Linked DNA regions of Homo sapiens: region 2 is linked to region 1. The links are contacts of gene promoters, found by promoter capture Hi-C in blood cells and fetal thymus (Javierre and others, 2016). All regions are on one chromosome and are shown on one strand. Each heading gives the region's core, a stretch centred on a gene start or on the middle of the fragment in contact. The rest is flanking DNA. Distances are from core to core; before and after follow the strand shown. Region 1 holds the start of TESHL (testicular germ cell expressed HSF2 interacting lncRNA). Region 2 has its middle 140 kb from the start of DIRC3-AS1.

What was found. Contacts are between HindIII fragments. The CHiCAGO score rates a contact against its expected background, and 5 or more counts as called.
Region 2: a fragment that was not itself captured here is called in contact with the fragment with the promoter of TESHL in region 1 in 1 of 17 cell types (erythroblasts); the score reaches 6.6 in erythroblasts.

Annotation. Positions count from the first base shown.
Region 1 is chr2:216,867,781-216,874,469 of GRCh38, forward strand. TESHL (testicular germ cell expressed HSF2 interacting lncRNA) reads left to right here and starts at 2,992. Exons shown (of 2, transcript NR_130782.1): 1 at 2,992-3,200; 2 at 3,676-3,859. It overlaps LOC105373876 (a long non-coding RNA gene), which reads right to left and starts at 29. Exons shown (of 2, transcript NR_135525.1): 1 at 1-29. The HindIII fragment of the contact is 5,034 bases long and covers 2,125-6,689 here.
Region 2 is chr2:217,142,652-217,149,340 of GRCh38, forward strand. No RefSeq gene overlaps it. Among named protein-coding and RNA genes, the nearest start is that of DIRC3-AS1, 140 kb to the right of the region's middle. The HindIII fragment of the contact is 3,882 bases long and covers 1,407-5,288 here.

The sequences.
Region 1 (6,689 bases), core at 1,742-4,241:
CAGTCATTTGCCTGAAGATTGTATTCCCAGCTCTGAGACAGAAGGAGCCCAGCTGCAGAGAATCTAGGCCACTGTGACTTGGTCTTCCCCTCTCTGGGATATCACAAAGGCCATATGAGGTCAGTGAACCAATCTACAAGAGAAGGGCTGAGCAGGGGACCTGAGATGATTTTCTCCAATATTTAGTCAGACTGATTTTCTGGATCCAAGTTTCTCAACTTACCAAATGTGGGCAAATCATTATATTGCTCCCAGCCTTAAAAATCTTCAATAAGTTAAAGAGAGGACTCAGGCTTAATGGCAATCCTGTTATCTTACCAATGAGGAGACTAAACACCTAGTTGGAGATCACCTCCTTACTGGCTCAGAGCTTCAGGAAATAGCTCAAGGATGTGCAAATACTAAACAGTAGAGCTGGGATTTAGATCCACATCTACTTAATTTTAGTGCGTATGCTCTAACTGCTGCCACAGAAGGGATGCAGAGGAAGACGGTCAGTTACCCAGAGGGTGATATCTTTGACTTAATGTTCACCATAAAGACAGCTATCAACAAAAGACTTGAATTCTAACTTGTTATCTATTGCAGGAAAGTGCCTGCAATATGGTAAGTTCTTTAGTGATATTAAGCCATTTAACCCAAGCCAGCAATGGAGTTGAAGAAGGGATAAGTTATAAAATACTGACGTGATTTATGTGGAGGGGTAAAGTTTTAATCCTAGTCTTCTGTCCTAAGTGAATAGTGAATGACTGCTGAGTAGATGCAGGAGCAGGAAATAGATGTGAACAGAAAAAAACTGGTTTTAGTTTTGCATAGGTTGAATGTCTACCAGAGAGGTCCCCAAGGATGCCCTGTAGACAAATTGGATAGAGGCATCTGTAGCTCAGAAGAGCAATTGAGGCTGGGGATGTAGTTTTGGGCACTGGCAAGGTAGAGTTTTGTGTGGTTGAATCTCCAGGGGCAGGTAAGATGCTCTAGAGACAAAGTTATGGGATTTATCAGCCATTGGGTGTTTCAGAGGAGAGAGCAGGGCAAGGAGACCGAGAGAACAGAAGAAAACTCAGGAAAGAATGGGGTTGAAAGTAAGGCATGCAAAACTGGAAGCTGCGACACTTGAGGTGGTCAGAGCACTTTTAGGGGACCTACTAAGCGCCAGGCACTGTGTGACCGCTTGAGGGAACCTCATCTCATTTCTCTGTCCTTACCTTAGGTGACTCCTGCAGAGCACCTGACAATCAGAGAAGAGTTAGAATACATTAAGCTCAGCATCACATATGTAGTTTGAATACAACTCCACCTCCTTCTCTTTCTTTCTCTTCTTTCCTGCCTTTGTTGCCCTACCCAGGATTAAAACCTTAGGTCTTATGTTAAAAGAATGACAAGAGAACTGTAGCATTCTCTGCCTCTTGGGCATCTGCAAGAGGTGGGATATTAGAGGGACACTGGGGGATGCTTGGATGATCACCTCCACCCCTCCACCCACTATGGCCTCAACATGAAGTTGGCCTTCTTGAAGTGGGTGAATCACTACAGCCCTTGTTCAGGAAGTGTGTTTGAAACCAGGCTTTTAAGGAAGAGAGGAGACGACATTTCTTGGGACCTTCCTGCCAACCTGACCCTTCTGGTTGGCACCACCCAGAGCTTCATTACTTAGGCCTGAAGCCCAGGTGTGTTGTTGGGCTCTTCCCCCTTTATGAGGCCCATGTTTCCATGATGCCAGGTGGCAGCCCTTCATCAGCCTTTGGACTACATCACTGTGGAGGTGGCTGGAGTCTCTTTTTTCATGCAAACTGCTGCCCAGTGAAACAAGATGTAGACATTTTGACTACAGCATTTCAATTTCCATATCCCCATCCCCAACCCCAACCTGGCTTTTTAGCCATGTCCTTCATTATTTCCTTCAGGCAACCTCTGTTCTAACCAAACTGGGTTATTTAAAAAGTAGAAAAAGTACAGGTCTTCATAGGAAATTCAGTGATTTGTACTATTTTTTTCATCTTCACCTATTAAACTTCCAAATGTGCTTCAAGACTCAAAACAAAGGCCCTATACTCTATGGTTACTTCTTCATTTGGTCACATTTTATATCTACCAGTAGAAGATGGCTTCTCTGGCCAGATATCAAGCTTCTTGAAGTTGAAGCTATATTTCTGTGGGGCTCTAGGGGATAGGGCAGGGGTAGTAGATTTAAAAAATGAACTGGACTAGAGCTTTAATTGTACTTTTTATCTTGATTTGTAGTAATGGTTTATGGGTGTATACCTAGGTCAAAACTTATCAAATTGTACACTTAAAATATGTGCAGGTTATTGTTTATCAATTATACTTCAATAAATTCACTTAAAAAGTGTACATTGTTCAAATCCTCCCTCAAGATCTCTTTCTAGAAGTAAGGCAATGAAACCAGGAATGTATGCCTAAATGTGTCAGCAGACAAAGGCTTTAAAAATGCTAGACTTGGAGATCAAAATATGCTACATGTACAATAAGAGCTTCTATAATTGTATATATGCCTTTCATGTATTTTCCCCTCAAGATTATCAACTGTGTGTTTGACAGTGAATATTAAATATGTTACCAGTTGAAATTTTTGGTTATAAATGTAATACGAATTGTTTCACAAACAAAACATGTAAAGCAGTATTAAAATTTGGCCAAACAAGTGTTCTGTATCTACTTTAATAAATGGTTATTCTTTAAAAAAAAAAAAAAGCTAGACTTGGGTTTGAAAGGCATAGAGAATTTTGCTTGGTTTCTGTAATTCTTGGGGGTTCCTATGGGCTGGCTGATAGGCAGCCAGCTGATTTAAGGAGTCCTACTAGGCATTTTCTTAATTTTATCCAACATTTCAGTACTGCCCCAACCACTCAACCAAGCTCTCATGTTGACTTTCAGCCATTGTGACAAGGCACCATCAATCATCATGTCCCTTTACCAGGAGGGCCCGTGTCATAAGCCACTATATAAAGGGAATGATGGGTGGACTGCTTTGGACAAATGGACCTGCGGTAGGAGAGAGGGACAACAGTAGGAGCAGGCAGATCTTGCTGTTTCAACCAAAACCTCATGCTGACCAGAGTTGAGGAACAGAAGAAGATGGTGAAGGCCTGCAGGTATAGGTGTTCAGCATGTCATCTGAAATATTCCCCACAGAGGCAAAAAGAAAGGAAATTATCTCTGAAAAGGAATGGGAGGACAAGGTATTGATGACATTTTCTGATTACAGAGGAGACTCTCAGGACTGAGGAATTGTCACCCATGCTTGGCCAATCTCCCAAACTGTCATGCCTCTGGCAAAAGCAAAGATCACCTCTCACCTTCTAAAGACTGGCCCCAGTACTTCTCTAACAATCCCTTCCCTCACCGACACCCACCCACCAATAAAAAACAACCACCCAACTCTCTCCCTGCTTCCCCACAAGTCCTGTGAAGAGCCAGGCTTTCTGTGCTCATGGCTTGTCTTCTTTGTGCTGTAGAGCCTCCCTCTAATCTTGTCCATGCAGTAAAGAGAGATCACACAAACCCTGGACCTACCTCTTTGAGGTGGTACTCTCAAACTCTTTGAAGGTCTGTATTTGATGGAATCTCTGGGAAACTGAGTTGGGAAGGTCCCTATATGAAAAACACGTGGGTTCTTGGAGTGTACATCTTTAATTTTCTTATTTGTCTCTTTAGTCAGCAGAATATGTCAATGTTTTGGTTGAAGAAGCTGCTTGAATCTGGGCTTTTCTGTGCCATGTGTTCTCCCAGGGCCAGCACAAAGAAGGGCTTTTGGTGCAGGCCCAAGACCACCATAATCATCATTGATTATTCCTCTCCACGCCAGTGTCTCTAAATAAACTTTCTCTTCTTTCTCTGACAAAGGTGTTTTTGAGTGTTACTGTTTAGCTGAAGAGTGACGTTGAGTGACCTTAGTACCCTAGCCCTTCATGTAATCAGATGGGTGTTGTAAGCAGAGGGAGAACCATGTGAGTCAGGAGGAAATATGTAGTTTACCCTTTTTTTCCTGTTTGAAAGATTTACTATGATGTTCATGGTTGGGCTTTTGTTTGGGATAAATTGAGATGCTTTCTGGATATGATAAGGGCTTATTTGGTTTGATAGACCGTCTAAACAAGGCCAGTGCAGGCTGAGCCAGGTGAACCACCAGATCACCATCAGCTCACACTTCTCATTCATTTGTTAGCAGAAATGAAGATGCTTGTTTTCCTAGAAACAAGCCCAGGTCATCCATCATGAAGTCCAGGAATTGTAAATGTGAGGAAGTGCAAAGACACAACGTACACTTACAAAGGCATATGTGCATTTGGAATTCTTTAAAGGACAACATCCTCGAGCTTCTCCTGGTAGTATACTCTAGATATAACGTAGTGTTTGGGCAATTTGGGATCAAATAATTCTTACAGCTTTATAGAATCCCTTGTGTAATTAAACTTGAACCTTGTATAACTTATGTAAAGGTACCAAATCATCTCTTACTCACAGCTTGCCTCCCCCTGAGAATCATAAATGCAATCTTTAAAAACCATTTACCAGCAAGACCAAAGCTAATCTGTAAGGTTGGGGCCTCAAAACTCAATTCTCTATTTCCTTTGGAACATGAAAGATGCAGAAACTGCCTTTTTATTGTTCATCTGACTTAGGTGGGCCCCAGGGTTTTGTCCTATTTCCTAGATGTTGATGAGCTTCTTGGGTTTCTTTGATGATTGCTTTTGCTCTTCAGTGGTCACATTTGGCCTTACTCAGTGTAGGGGTGTGGAGAGGTGGCAATTTATTGCTTAAAGATGTTATAGCAGGTGTTCCTGGGCGCAAGAGCAGAGTGTCCTGAGGTAGTGTATGTAGTAATAATACAAGTCGCTCTTGTGGTAGCAGGCTGTAGTAATATAGCTATATCATTGGATATAAGCATGTATTATGGTAGTAGGCCGTGGTAACGGGTTACAGGCACCTCTGGTAGTAACAGGCTACAGTTAATGGGTTATAAGTGTGTCTGGCAGTAGTAGGCTGTAATAATGTTGTGCATACACTGGCATAATCTCAGGGAGAAGGCAAAGGCAAAGAGGTCAATAGCCTTCCCTGTGTCATTCTGGTGCTGTCCTCCATGACACCCTCACTATATTTGCTACATTTACATAGGAAATGTTTTACTATTGAATAAATGCCCATGTGCCAGGTCCTGTTCACATGTCCATGTACTCCAAGAAATGTACATATAGTAAATATAGTCTAAGACATATAGTCCAGGAGAAAACCAGAATAAATTTAACAGTGCCAGGAGATCCATCACATGTTCAAACTTGAAACTTAGAAGAAAATTTTGAAATTGATAATTGTGGAGAACTTCAGGATGTGAAATATTTGAATCTTCTGTCTAGGGCGTTCAATATTTATTGATGAAAGTCTTGTATGAGGTAAGTAACCATGACCCAAGTTATAACTTACAGCAGCTTTTGTGAGTTATGCGAGGTGATAGGGCCACTTGAGAGAGCCCCTACAGAGTTATAGGGCCAGATAGCAGATGTTTTATTCTTTGCAGGTGAAAGCAGCCATAGTAAGTGAATAGCTCTGGCTTGTTAACTTTGCTGGATTTGGCCTGCAGACTGCAGTTTGTCAGGCCCTGCACTACAGATTGTGGAATCATCATTTCATTTATCTCAGTTGCAGCATCGAGGTAATCAGGGTCCTGATTTCATAATTGAAACAGGTGGAATGATTAACCTGCTTAAGATCATACAGCTTAGGATGTGCTTGAGTTAAGACCCAAGTCAGAGTGGTGCTATTATACCTTCAAAAAAGTCACACAAAGGAAGAGGTAGGTAGAGCTGGCCGGCAGGGTTCTATCTACCCTCATATTCCTCCAGCCCCTGGGAGGTTAAATCCTCCTTCTTTGGGTCTCATCTAAGTGTCAGCATTATGCTTCCTTTTCCTAAGAGGTTCATTCACCCTTTGTGGTACCTTGTTCCTTCTACTCAGGGCCTTCTTCCTCTTTCTGGATGCCTTTCTGCAGTAGGCTATCTTTATACTTGTCTTGATGGGACTGGTAATTTTAGATTTCTGGTAAAAGGGTCTTTTAAGGAGCATAGGGAAGTAGGGCTAGAGGACAGAACCACTAGTTCTAAGCCAGATGCTACTCAGGCAGTTAAGTCAGTGACAGGAGGAGGCAGCTATTGGGTCAGTGCTTTGTATGATGCAGTAAGGGTCATAATGTTACAGCCACCATTATCCTTTATACCTCATCATATCAGGTGCTGAAACTGGTCCCAAATTAGAGAGCATAAGTTTGTGAATTTGAGTACAGTCCCTCTTGCTCACTTACAGCTCATGACCTAACACTTTTCTCTAGTCTTTCTGCTTTTCAAAATTTTATAGTTGCCCATTATGGTGCACTTCCAATACATTCTCCAATAACAGAAGATAACTCTCATAACTTATGTCCAAACTGGTGGCTCAAGAGCCAAAACGGCCCACAAATATGTTTTCTTTGACATCCTATGCAGGCCAATATGGAGTGAGCAGAAAACATTTGGATTAGTTGCCACCATGGAAAAGAGCTTTCATGTAAAATCTAGATATTTGACATCTTGGTTGCTCTTAAAAATGTGCAATGTCTATCAATACTGGATTTTAACTGGCTTGAGCTCAGAAGCATCTTTCGGAAGAGGCACGTACACGTCAATTTGTCTATCTCC
Region 2 (6,689 bases), core at 2,098-4,597, 280 kb after region 1:
CAGAAATAAATAATTGTCCATAATTGTTTTCAACAAACACCCCTAAAAGAAAAAGCTTTTTATACTGGGCCAGTGCCAAGTCAGTTCAAATACTCTCAGCTTTGCAAGTGGAATCTTCCAGAGAATCACCAGACAGGTCAAATTATGATAATCTCTGGGAATTAGGTTTTGAAAGAATGCCAACCCTCTTCTGCGCCCTCTGGTGGCCTCCAGCCTGCTGATTTTTACTCAGAAAGCAAGGTATTGATTTTCAAGGCTTTCATGGAGTGGGAGAGATAAGAATTAAAATAGGGTAAATTTAAAACACCAGAAATTCACTGTTCTTACCAAGATTTAGCTGTTTTTCTTGACTAAATCTTCCCTGATTGATGCAAACTTTTAGTTAATTTCCAGAGTTCAAAAAAAGTTGATTCTGACTTTTTTTTGTAGGTTTTAAAAATTGTTTTATGAAAGGGAAAATTTTCAGAGGTCCTTACATTGCCATGTCACTGGCATCACTCTCTGTATAGTTTATTTAAAAAGGAATGTGCAACTATTTTTTCAAGTGATTGTACTATTTTACGCTCTCACAAGCAATGCATGAATGTTGCAATTGCTCCACCAATATTCGGTGTTGTTAATCAGTTTTATTTTGGTCTGTTAGATATTTGTGTGAAGGTTTTTTGTTTTTTATCATTTTTTGGTGGTTTTTTATGAATTCCAATTGATTAATTTGTTTTATATTTAGATATTTTTGTATTCCATCTAAAAAATAATTTCCTACCTTAAAATACCAAAGATAGTCTACTATCTTTCCTGCTAGAAGCTTTATAGTTTATGGTTTTACATTTAGGTCTATGATCTAGCTCAAATAATTTTATATATGTTGTGAAGTAGGGGTAAAGGTTTATTGTTTCCCATATATATTTTATATATATATATTATATATATTTATTTGTTTCATTACTCTGTCCTAAAAAATATTATGCATTCTTCACTAAATTTTCCTGATGTTTTATGTTAATATCAATTAACATATGTTTATTGGTCTTTATTTCTGGAATCTCAATGATCAGTTTTGTTAATCTAATTTTCTATCCTCGATACCAATATTACATTAGATAAATTACCAAGGCTATGTAGTCAACCTTGGGATAAGGTTATCTGAGCTACCTAACTTTGTTGTTTATTTCAAGAATTTTTGGTCTAGATTATTTGTGTGTTTATATATTTTAGAATTTACCATCACTTTCTTGAAAAGGACAAAGGGAATTTTTAATCTATAGGTCAATTTGGGAAGAATTGACATCAAACAATGTTAAATCTTTCAATCCGTGAACACAGCATATCTTTCTATTTAGGTCTCCATTAATTTTTCTCAGCCTTATTATACAGTATTATATAGTATTCTTACATGCCTTTTGTCAAGCTTATCTCCAAATTCTTTATGCTTTTATATGCTGCCGAAACAGTATTTTAAAATTACATTTTAAAATTTATTTTCATAATTGTTTTTTTGTATTGTTTACACCTCCTGAAAACTTGCTAAATTTACTCGTTAGTTCCAGTAGTTGTTTTATAGATTACTTAGGGTTTTTTTATGTAAACAATTCTGTCATCTACAAATAAAGACAGTTTTACTTTTTACTTTTCCATCTGTATATTTTTAACATTTTGTCTTGCCTTATCGCACTGGCTAGGACCTCTAATACGATGTTGAATAAATATGGCTATAGCAAATATTTTTGATTAGTTCTCAATCTTAGGGAGAAGGTGTATAATATTTAATAATTGATATGGTATTAATGGTAGAGTTTTGGTTTTGCTTCTTTGGATTTGGCAGAAAGGGCTGCTTTTTTCAGTTTGAGGAAATTCCCTCTGTTAGTTTTCTCAGAGTTTTTAAAATAATCATAAATGAGTGATAATTTTTTCAAATGTCTTTTTTTCCATCTATTGAGATGATTATATAGTTGGGTTCTTTTTTATTAGTTAAGTTATTGTAGGAATGCAATCTTGCATTCCTAGATATCCTAGGTTGCATTACTAGGATAAACCTTACTTGGTCTTTTAATATACAGCTTAATTTGATTTGCTAATTATTTCTTTCTTTCTTTATTTTTATTTATTTTGAGATGGAGTATCACTCTGTTGCCCAGGCTGGAGTGCAGTGGCGCAATCTCGGCTCACTGAAACCTCTGCCTCCCGGGTTCAAGCGATTCTCCAGCCTCAGCCTCCTGAGTAGCTGAGACTACAGGCACGTGCCACCATGCCTAGCTAATTTTTGTATTTTTAATAGAGACAGGGTTTCACCATGTTGGCCAGGGTGGTCTTGATCTCTTGACCTTGTGATCCACCTGCCTAGGCTTCCCAAAGTGCTGGGATTACAGGCATGAGCCACCACACCCAGCCATTAATCTATTTTTAAGAATTTTTCTGTCTATGGTTTGAGGAGATGTTGGTTAGTAACTTTCTTTTCTTACAAGGTCTTTGGAACTTTTGATAGCTTGTTATTAGAGTTACACTGCCTTCATAGCATAAATTAAGGAGTGTTTCCTTCTTTTCTATTTTCTAAAATAGTTTCCATGTGATTGATTTCGTTTCTTATTTAAATGTTTGATAGAATTCGCCAGTAAAACCATCTGGGGCTAGGGTGTTCTTTGTGGAAAGATTTTGTATTGCGAATTTAATTTTTTAATAGACAAAGAGTTATTAAAATTTTCTAATTTTTGTCAATTTTAGCAAGCTGTATTTTTAAAGAAAGTTGTACATTTGTTTTAAATTGGGGAATTAGTGGAATAAATTTTTTCATAGTATTCTTATTGTCCTTTTAAAATCTGAAACATCTGTATGATATCTTTTCTTCCATTCTTGATATGAGTAATTTGTGTTTCTCTTTCTTTCTTCATCTGTTTTGCCAGACATTTATTATTTTATCAATATCTTCAAAGAATAAACTTTTTGCTTTATTAGCTTTCTCTATTGTTTGTTCATTACTTATTTCATTTATTTTTGCTCTCCTACTGAATGGAGGATTCCTTTGTCTTAATTTATTATGCATACCACAGTGAATGAGTTTACTAAATCACTGTTTTTTCGGTCTGGTGCAAATCACACCTGAGTTTGGCATATTAAATTCTTTTTTTTTTTTTAATTTGAAACGGAGTCTCTCTCTGTCACCAGGCTGGAGTGCAGTGGCATGATCTCGGCTCACTGCAACCTCTACCTTCTCTGTTCAAGCGATTCTCCTGCCTCAGCCTCCCAAGTAGTTGGGACTACAGGTGCTCATCACCACGCCCAGGTAATTTTTGTATTTTTCGTAGAGACAGGGTTTCACCATGTTGGCCAGGATGCTCTTGATTGCTTGGCCTTGTGATCCGCTCCCTTGGCCTCCCAAAGTGCTGGGATTACAGGCATGAGCCACCATGCCTGGCCTTTTTTTTTTTCCTTTGGTTTAGGGCATAAGGAAGCGCTGTGGTATAGCAGAAAGTCCTCTGATCTTGGATTCAGCATTTCAAAACTATCACTCAACTTCTTTATCCTCAATTTTCTTGTATGTAAAATAGTGATAATAATAATTGCATATAACTTGTGTGAAGTGTTTGGAACATAGTAATCATTCTCTGATGGTTAACCTCAGGAGTCATAGCAGCTCCTCACTGTCTATGTAGCTCATTGACCAGTATCTATTATTTAACACATAACCTGATTATAAATATTTCAGGTATGTATCATCTGTGATGGGAATAATTCCAAAGAGGGAACATTTCCCAAAGGTATTTATAAATAGCCTCTAGTGCTTACCCTTTTCTAAATGTTATCTGAAGGACACTAAAGGAAATCAGATTGAGTTCAAATAAATATCAGTCTATAGTTCAAAATTAAATTGTCTTTTAGTTTAATTTTTGTGAAAATCTATTGTCTCAGGAAAACTCTGCTGTAAGCCAAGTCAGTTAACATTTCATCCCCAAATTGCATGACATGAAACAATAACACTAGTTTAACTCAATTGTGGTTCAGCACTTTAGGTTAAGCTCAGTTAGGTGTTCTGTTGATCTAAGTTGGTTCACTCTTGGTTTTCAACCAGCAGTTGATCAACTAAGTAGATCTGCTTCTGAGTTTGGATGGCTATTGATTAGAAAAATGAGGGAAACTGTGTTACTTATCTCTCACCTTCTAACAGGGTAACTCAGGCTTGTTCATGTGGTGGCTCCAGGTTCCAAGAGTAGCAAGAGAGCAAGGTCCAATATGGAAGTTCTTTCCAAGCCTCTGCTTGTGTCACATTTGCTCATGTCCCGCTGGTGAAAGTGAGTCACTGGGACAATCCTGATTTAAAGGGGGTGGAGAATAGGCCCCACCATTTGATGGGAGTCAGCAGCAAAGAATTATGGTCATTTTGGTCATCTACCACACTGGCTCTGGGCTCTGGATGTAGTGGGAGAAATATGAGGCCAAGAGGGATGTGTTTCTCGTCAGTATCTCCAGGATGTTAACAAAGGCATGCCTTGCATCCGAAGGACAGTTGGGACAACTCCTGTGTCGCCATCCAGCTAGTGCTTTAATCTGTGAAGAGCTTTCTTGGCAAATCAACAAATACATTCTGCTTAGAGATTGCTAGAAAAATATTTGATTCTCCAGATAGCCGAAATATAAACTTTTCTTTGTTATCTTTACCCTGTTCTTCTTCCTCTTTCCCCCAATCATCCTACTTCCTAACCCATTTGATGTCTTTTACAAAAGCCTGCCACTGACTTTCGTAGCTTTCATCCCTGTGAATGATGAGGAAATGTGCCAAATACCTGCTGATTTATCTGAAATGGGGCGTAAGGCTCATAAACTCAAAAATAAGATAAAAGAGAGCTGACAGTCCAGGCTAAATTCTACAATCCAATTTCAGATTCTTCCCAGTTGATCTCACAGCATATATGCAAGTGCACATACTTGAATACACACCACACCTCTGCCCATGATCACCTTTAAACAGTCATAAACAAAAATATACACAGATTGACTTCAGTAAACATGCTGTATAGGATGGGAGGACTGGCAGGAGGGAAGTAAAGAGAGAAGATATGTTCTCTAGTACTCCAGCATCTCACAGAGACACAGTGATAGCTCTCTTGTTAGCTTACGTGCTTGCTCTCCCAGTATTTCTCTTCAATATTATCTCATCAGAAAAAGTTGTATCAGTTAGCTATTGCTATGTCACAAACCACCACAAAACCAATCACTTGAAACAAAAAACATTTGCTATGTATCATGAGTCTACGTGTTGGATAGGCAGTTCTATTTATCTGATCCAGACTCAGCTAAGCTTCTTTGGGCTTACTCATGAATTTGCTATCAGCTGCAGAACAGAAGTGGACTGACTAGTCTAGGATGGTCTTAGCTGTGGAAACTTGGCCTTCCTCTGTGTCTCTCACATTCCTACAGCAAGTTAGCTCAGGGATATCTCGTGTTTATGGCAAACAAACAAGAATGGCAAGAAAGCAAACAGCAATTCACAAGTGCAAGTGTTTCTTAAGATTCTGCTTGCACCTTGTTTGCTAAGCCCCATTGGCCAAAGCAAGTCACACAGCTGAGCACAGAGAGAAAGGGCCAGTCAGAATCTCTTACCCAAAATGGTCGTAGTAAAAACTGGAAAATCAATCCAATTAATTTACCATTCCAGTTGTGCAACATTACGGAAATTTTAAAAATATTCATGTAATTGTTTGTCACATTATTATTATTATGAGACAGGGTCTTGCTCAGTTTCCCAGGCTGGAGTGCAGCGGCACAGTTACAGCTCACTGTAACCTCAAACACCTAGGCTTAAGTGATCCTCCCCCCACAGCCTCCCCAGTAGCTAGGTTGTTTGTCACATTATTGAATGATCCACAATCTAATTCTTACCCTTGATGGTGTAATTCATTCCTAGCGATAATTTCTTTTAATCCTTTATGTCAGCGTGTCTTCCTGAGACTCCAGTCAGCCTGGATTTGTCTGCAGGCCCAGGAAGGGGGATAGTGCAGTGGCCAGTTTTTAGTGTTCCCTTGTGGGTATATGCGTCCTGGCTTGGGGTTAGCCCTATGTCTTTTCTCCTTTAACTTTATGCCAGGATACAACTCAGAAGATTTACTCATTGAAGAGACTCTCACTTTTGAGCAGCAGAACTGGGCCTCCTTACTCACAGACTCTCACAGGCAGCCTAGGACTCCCGCTCTTGGGCCTCCAGGTTTTTTATGTGGATAATAGAAAGAATCAGCTCTCACTAGGAGCTTGAGGTATATGTGTATGTAGCAGGGGAGGACTGGGGAACATTAGCTTGAATATAGGACACTGTGCTAAATGTGTAAGAGTGAGACACTGGCTAGAATCCACCCTCTTAGCCATTTATCCAACTTATTGCTGTCTAAAAGATATAACCTTGTCATCAAGAATGGATAAAACAAGAAGGAATTAGATTAAATGGTAAAAATTATCTTGCAGTAAAAACTAAACAGCACTTACTGCTAAAATGTATCATATTAGAATAGTGGAGGTCTCCTTTTGAATAGTTTGAGGATCTAGAGACCTAGCCCTCTGTCTAGGTTGAGCTTGCTACAAGGGGTCGTTAGACAAAGGGGAAGTTCTGCTCAGACCTTCTGAATTATGTATGCTGAGAATGACCTTTTACCATCCCTAGCAGCTTCCACCTCCAGTAGCTGTTCTGCTCACCAGCCACTGCTTCT